2 separate regions of the Homo sapiens genome follow, and region 2 is linked to region 1. The links are contacts of gene promoters, found by promoter capture Hi-C in human tissues and cell types (Jung and others, 2019). All regions are on one chromosome and are shown on one strand. Each heading gives the region's core, a stretch centred on a gene start or on the middle of the fragment in contact. The rest is flanking DNA. Distances are from core to core; before and after follow the strand shown. Region 1 holds the start of L3HYPDH (trans-L-3-hydroxyproline dehydratase). Region 2 has its middle 12 kb from the start of ACTR10.

Region 1 (3,565 bases), core at 614-3,113:
CTAGTTAAACTGTTGAGGTTTTAAAAATGGAATCGTAAACATAAATTCTGTCTCCCTCAAGTGGCCTCCCAGTCTGGAAGTGACACCATTCTCTGGGAAAATGGCATCAATTTCTCCAGAGGCATTCTTCGTTAACTCGTGGATTTCAGCTGCCTAAGGTTGCTCTAAAAGTGCCTGTTCTATCAGTTATCATTCATAATCAGGCTAATCTGAAACCTAGTTCTTCAGGGGGAATCAAGGTCCAACTTTCTAACAGATGATTTGCATGGCTTGAAGATTTTTAAGAAAAGGATAACTCTATTCCTGGTAAACTGGCTCCTGGCTCACTTCCAGTCACAATGACTAAAGCATTCTTACTGATAGAATTCAGCTCCTGGGAGGTAGTAGTCTGATGAGAAACCAGATGCCAGCTTGCCAGGTCATCCCTCCTGTAAGGGTTATGGTTATAGAGATGCCCTGCTTTACATGATAAGCTGTACAAGGATCTGTACTAGAGAATCCAGCAAAACCTTTTAATGGCTCAATAGGCCTAGGGAACTTTAGCGATCATATAAACCTTGCAATCTATCTCCAGGAATACAGTATCTTGCATACTCTCATTTAATCCTAACAAAAAAACTCTATGAGGGAAAAGAAGAAACACAGGCACAGAGAGATTAAGTAATTTGCCTAAGGTTGCACAGCTTTAGGGGGTTATCAGGATTTGAAACCAGGCAATGTGTGTTCCTGTTCTTAAAGAAAAGCAACATTCGTATCTTAATGATTTATAAACTGCTTTGTTCATTCATTCTCATTTAATTCTTCAAAGAAGTGGGGGAGGTGAGGAAAGGAGACCAGGTTTAGTAACTTATTAAGTGTGATTCTGTGTCTACCAAGCATATTCTCAGCCAGCCTGGAACCCTGGTACATTGGCTGTTCTTCGCTCTTTCCTTGACCCCACCGTACCTTGCTTTATCCACCGGTGAAATCTCTAGGAATGCCTCACCAGTGCAGAGGGAGGCGCTGAGTCAGGGTAACACGCAATTCCTCGCTCCTCAAGGGTCTCCCAAAACCACAGGCGGATGGGAGTCAGGGAAAATCGAAATTACACGCACCAAATACGCAAGGCTGCTGACACACGTTGGCAGTGATTTACCTTTCTATTAATTGCAAGGTTTCGCGGAGTAGGTTAGTTGCCAGAGTTCCAGCCCAGAAAAACCGTTAATGTAGTTAGTCGCGTCCCGGTTGCAGCTCTGCCCTGGGCTGGAAAGGTCCCGCCCATTACCTGTGGCCAGCACGAAGGCCGGGACGCTGTGGAAGCGCACCGGTCCGTGGCTGCGGCCGTCCTCGCATGCCACGAAGGCGGTCACCAGCCCGCAGGGGCAGTGGATATTGACGCGGGCCTCGCGGGTGCCCGCAGGGGGCGCCGGCACAAGCCCGAAGTCCAAAGCGAAGCGGCCCAGCGCCAGCACTGCGTGGCCGCACATGGAGCTGTAGCCCTCGTTGTGCAGGAACAGGACGCCCAGATGCGCGTCCGGCAGCTCGCTCGGGACTAGGACCGCCCCGTACATGTCCCGGTGCCCTCGGGGCTCGAACATGAGCCGTCGCCGCACGTGGTCAAGGTGCTGGCGCATGTAGCGCCGCTTGGCCAGCAGGGTGGGCCCAGACACCTCCGGACACCCCGCCAGCACGATACGCAAGGGCTCGCCGCCCGTGTGCATGTCCACCACCGACAGCACCGGCGTCCCTGGATCATGCGGGGGCAGCCGGGGCACCGCCAGCGCGCTCTCCATGGTCTGCGTCGGGGGAGACGAGTACGGTCCCGCAGCTATGGCTTCAAGCCCGACCCTCACCCACTGACTCCGCGGGAGGAGGGCGGGACGCTAACCAGCCACGTCCGGGGGGCGGGGTCTCGGAGCCTAAACCCGGAAGCGAGGGAGGAACTTCGGAGCTGTCGCCCGGGTTACCGGGAGGCGGAGCCGCCGAGCTCGCTGTGGCCCGGATGTTCGGTGCAGCTGCCAGATCCGCTGATCTAGTGCTTCTCGAAAAAAACCTTCAGGCGGCCCATGGGTGAGTGGTCGCCAAGATCCCGGGAAGCGTTTCTGGTAGTCCCGACTACTTTCCTACACGGCTGGCCTCGGGCTCGGCTCTTTGTAGGCGGCCTTCGGTTGGCGGCGCAGGCTCGCCCCTTGACCCCGCCCGCCCTCGGGCCGGGCTCCGCACTCCTGCGGGGTTGGGGTGGTCTGTCCGCAACGGGCTACTAGGGGAGGCGCGCTGTCTGCGGCGAAATGCCAGGTCTTTGTTGTTTGGTCCGAAATGTCTCTTCAGTCCCTTAGTTTAATGTCGAGGGAACACTTGCTTGAGGGTTGACTTCGGAATTGAAAACGCGGGTGATAGTGCAGAAAAAACAGTAAAGCAGAAGCAAGTTGCTGCATAATTTGTCTACTGCTTCAACCTCAAACGTAGATTTATAGCGCCCGTCACAAAGGGCAGGACCGCTGCAAAAAAATGGAATCTTAAAACTTTAGCCATCGTTCGCTAAAGGAAATGAAAGGAGAAATTCAACAGTCGCTTGGAGCCTGGGTTTTGCTTAGTAAGTGATAGGCTGTTTATTTCAGTTCAGTTTATCATACTGGTTTTCAGGCCTTGGATTTTGAGAAACTTTAGATTATTGATATTCACGTGTATTTATTAAGCATCTACTAGATGTAAAGCCCATACAGAAGTTTCCAATTCCTTACCTTCTGCATTCTTGAAAAACCTGAAATATTCATTTTCATGTATTAATTTAGAACATTGTGATTACAATTGGTTACAAAAAAAATAAGCGCCCATTAAAGAGGCCAGTGGGTTTAAAAAGCTAAGTCCGAAATTTGTTAAAAGCGAAAATATTAAACTGGAGGAATATTATTCAATGCTGTTTCTCTTTTTCTCTCAGCAGCATAAGGAGAAGGAAGTAAAAAGTCTGCTTGAATGTGAAAGGAGAGAAGGCACTGTAGACCAGGCAGTCTAGATTGTGAATTCGTGAATAATTTGGGAAATGATTGTTCAAGAATAGTCAAAAGATGCATAATTTTTCAAATTAATTCACATGTAGACCGCAGTTTGTTTTGAGACGGAGTCTCCTTCTGTAGCCCAGGCTGGAGTGCAGTGGCGCGATCTCGGCTCACTGCAACCTCTGCCTCCTGGGTTCAAGCGATTCTCCTGCCTCAGCCTCCCCAGTAGCTGGGACTACAGGCGCGCGCCACCACGTCAGGCTAATTTTTGTATTTTTAGTAGAGACGGGGTTTCACCATTTTGGCCAGGCTGGTCTGGAACTCCTGACCTCATGATCTGCCCACCTCGACCTCCCAAAGTGCTGGGATTACAGGCGTGAGCCACCTCACCGAGCCTGTTTGTTTGTTTTAATCAATGAATGAATGAAGGGAATCAGATGTCACTGATGAAGAAAACTTCCATAATTTCTTGTGAATAAGGTCAAAGACAACGTATTAGGTTCTTAGTTGTTGGGGTTTTTTTAAGTAAGGAATAGCTGCTTTTCCCCTAAGCCTTTAGATCAGGGGCTTAATTTTAATGCAGTGGTTTC
Region 2 (4,052 bases), core at 976-3,475, 1.3 Mb before region 1:
TTTTATTATAGCAGCGTGAACAGACTAAGACAAATGATAATAGACCCAAGATGTACGAGAAGGAAAAATCATAGGACTTCGTAACTGATGGAAAATGGGAAGTAAAAGGAAAGAAGGAGTTGAGAAGAACTATTTCTGGTTTCCAGCCTAGGCTCCTGAAAGATCTTTCATAGTGATTGGAAAAAAAAATGTAGGCTATGGGGACACTTTTCAAAGGATTATGAGTAGTTAAGTTTTGGACATGTTGAGTTTAAGGTGGTTGTGGGATCTCCACAAAGAATGTGTCTGTGTTTTGTTGGATAATAAAGTTTTAAGCTCAGGCAACATATCTGAGCTGAAGTTACAGCCTGTGTGAGAGTGGAGTTGGGCATGAGTATATGATAGTAAATGAAGCCATGAAAGAGAATAAGATAACTGAGGAAGCAAGTGTGGAGATGAGAAAAGAAGTGATCCCAAGACAAAATGGTAGAGAACAGTATATTAACATATTAAGAGATAGAATAGTAGACAACTCCAAAGAAATATCTATAAAATATGTGATAAACCAAAAAAGAGTAACGTTGTAGAAGCTAAGGGAAGAGAAAGTTTCAAGGAGAGAGCAGTCAACAGTTTGAAAATTTACAGAGAAGTCAAATAGGCTAAACACTGACCTATGTCCATTGGATTTAACAAACAAAGAAGAAACTGATGTGGTTGGCAAGAGCAATATTGGTCAAGTGGCAAAATCCAGACTGCAATAGGTTAAGGAATGATGGGAAGAAAGAAAGATGAGGCAATGAATGTAGACAACTCTTTCACAAAGATCAAATAGAAAAGAGATAGGGTGGCATCTAGAGGGGAAGATAAGGCTAAGGGAGGATTTTCTTTTTTTAAAAGATGCTGGTGAGAAACAGAAGGAGGCAGGTATAACTGAGGAAGCATGGCCACTGAGAAGGTGTGAGGGATGAGGCCCAGAGCTCAAGTGCAGGGATTGGCTCTGAATTGAAGAAGAGAAGCCTCTTCCCCTAGGATAATGAGAAGGACTTTCAAACATTTCTAAAAGACATGCACCCCACATCAACAATTTTTTTTTTTTTTGAGACGAAATCTCGCTCTTGTCACCTAGGCTGGAGTGCAATTGCGCAATCTCGGGTCACTGCAACCTCCATCTTCCAGGTTCAAGCGATTTTCCTGCCTCAGCCTCCCAAGTAGCTGGGATTACAGGCGCCTACCACCATGCCCGGCTAATTTTTGAATTTTTAGTAGAGATGGGGTTTCACCATGTTGGCCAGGCTGGTCTTTAACTCCTGACCTCAGGCCATCCGCCCGCCTCGGCCTCCCAAAGTGCTGGGATTACAGGCATGAGCCATCACGCCCAGCCCACGCCAACGATTTTTTATACAAAGCTTCTTGGTACTGGAGTTCCAAGTCAGGCATTTGGAACATTGTAAGATGTGACAAGCAAATCTTCTTTCTGGACTACACCACTCCACTAGCTTTGATCACTGCCACATCTCATACACTCAAAAATATCAAAAGTGAAAAATAAGATTTTAGAGCTGATTTGATTTTTATAAAAAACAACTTTGTTGACATATACTTTAAATATCATAAAATTCACCGGTTTTAAACATACAATTCAATGATTTTTAGTAAATTTACCGAGTTATACAACCATCACCATAATCCAGTTTTAGAACATGCCTATAACCCCACTAAGATCCCTAATGTCCACTTAGAATTAATGCCCATTCTCATTCCTGGCCCTAAGAAACTCTACTTTTTATCTGTATAGATTTGCCTTTTGTGGACAGCTCCTATAAATTGAATCATATATTATCTTCTGTATCTGGTGTCTTTCATTCAACATAATGATTTTGACATTCATCCAATGTCGTAGGGTATTTCAGCAGTTTGTTCCTTTTTGTTGCTGAATTGCTGAATAATATTCCATTGTATGGCTGTACCACATTGTCTTTATCCACTTTTCAGTTGAGGAACATATGCTGCTCTGCTTTTGCCTCCACCCTTGTCCCTGAATTACAGGGCATAGACTGACAGTTTTCTCTTTCCCTCTCGTGATGCCTGCTGACAGCGTTAGACAATACGGCAAATTATTTTCCGTAAGGATGTGTGACTAGGCTTTACCAATCTTTAACGACAAGTGAGAATATAGACATCATGGTAAGACTCAATCATTAGAGCAGTGCCTCTGAAATATTTCCAAACGACAGACGACTGTGGCAGAACCCTACATGCCATGGGATATATACCTCACACACTCCCAGTTGTTGCCACTACGGAAAACAGTACCACAAAATAGGAACAACAGCAATGACAATGATGACCACAACAAAACCTCCCGGAAAATAATGGGGAAAATTGGGTTCTTTTAGGTATGCTCTTCTTGGACAACCCCAATGAGAAAAATCACATCAAAATTTCTTATACCAAAATAGTAATGAAAATGTTATCCTGATATAAATATTGGCTGATACACACTGATGCCTATGGACAACAAACAATCCTCTCAGAACATACTTTGAGTACTGCTGTTCTACCCTACATAGTGTACTTGAAGGTAAGGATTATTATAAAGTGAATATATATCCCAACATGTGAGTCAGACTTGTTAGTCACATATTTTGTTTTTTAACCTTAATTTTTAATTTTTTTATTTTTATTATTCTTTTTACTTTTTTAAAAAAAGCTTTAACTTTTTCTTTTGTTGTATTCTTTTTTGATTATATATTTCCAGAGGTGAGTGCATTTTTTAACTTATTTTTAAATACATAAACATATAGATACTAGTGTAATAAACCCCCAAATAGCCATCACCCAGGCCAACAGCCATCAACCTATGGCCCATCTGCCCCATCTGCAAACTCACTAACCTCTCTCTCCACATTATTTTGAAGTAAATCTCAGGCATGATATCATTTTCCCATAAATATTTCATCATGCAATTCTAAAAGAGAGTTCTTTCCTAATAATATAACCATAATACCATTATCACATCTAAAATATTTTAACAGTATTTGCTTAGTACAAAATTTGCAATCAGTGTTTCTGTTACTTGAATTTCTTTCTTGGAGAAATAAACCCTATTGGTAAAATGACCTCTGTCTGATAAGGCCTTTGAAAAGAAGGGCTCAATGCATGTCCTGATAGAGTGTACATGATAACATTTCTTTACATCTAAATCATCTAAGTAATCTTTTCAGGCTGGGATTGAAAGGACTGAAGGGAATATAAAAATAAGCTTGGAAAACGTATGCCATATGGACATTAAAGGATTACTCCCTTCTTTCTGGCTATGAAATGACTAATTAACTATTTGCAGCTGAAATGTGTGGGATCGTTTTCAGAAAATGGAATATCCTTCTCTCACTGAGCATATTGATCAGAGACATAATCTAGACTGTCTGGGAATACTTTTTCTGTAGCAGAACAAATCACACCCTTCAATGCACTGTTTAATTTTAGATATATCTTGTCACATTTATTTAAATGGTTTGGCTCCAGATTTTTTTTTCCCTTTAGGAGTGCCTGATGAACACATGTATAATTTAGCTGTCATTTTTTTTTTTCAGAAGGCAATGTGGGGTAATAGGAAGAGCAAGTCCAAATTTTGTCACACACTAGCAGTATGACCTCATACAAGTTACTTAACCTCTATGAGCAGGAGATTTTTTTCATATGTTGATAAATAAAGATTTGCAAGGATTAACTGAGATACCAGACTTAGCACTCTGCCAGCACACACTAGACAAGAAATCATTGCTGGATGGGCATGGTGGCTCATGCCAGTAATCCTAGCACTTTGGGAGTCTGAGGCGGGCGGACCACTGGAGGCCAGGAGTTTGAGACCAGCCTGGCCAACATGACGAAACCGCGTCTCTACTAAAAATACAAAAATTAGCTGGGAGCGGTGGCACACATCTGTAATCCCAGCTACTCGGGTCACTGAGGCAAGAGAAGCACTTGAACCTGGGACGCGGAGGTTGCAGTGAGCCGAGACTGCACTCCAGCCTGGGCAACAGAGCGAGACTCTGTCACAGAAAGAGAGAGAG

What was found. Contacts are between HindIII fragments. The study calls those that stand out against the background at their distance.
Region 2: a contact is called between a fragment that was not itself captured here and the fragment with the promoter of L3HYPDH in region 1, in 1 of the 25 tissues and cell types used here (dorsolateral prefrontal cortex).

The regions. Positions count from the first base shown.
Region 1 is chr14:59,482,545-59,486,109 of GRCh38, forward strand. It overlaps L3HYPDH (trans-L-3-hydroxyproline dehydratase), which reads right to left and starts at 1,864. Exons shown (of 5, transcript NM_144581.2): 1 at 1,265-1,864. The coding sequence starts at 1,772. JKAMP (JNK1/MAPK8 associated membrane protein) reads left to right here and starts at 1,973. Exons shown (of 7, transcript NM_016475.5): 1 at 1,973-2,049. The coding sequence starts at 2,046. RefSeq lists an enhancer at 1,939-2,218. The HindIII fragment of the contact is 11,286 bases long and covers 1-3,565 here.
Region 2 is chr14:58,185,987-58,190,038 of GRCh38, forward strand. No RefSeq gene overlaps it. Among named protein-coding and RNA genes, the nearest start is that of ACTR10, 12 kb to the right of the region's middle. The HindIII fragment of the contact is 4,169 bases long and covers 142-4,052 here.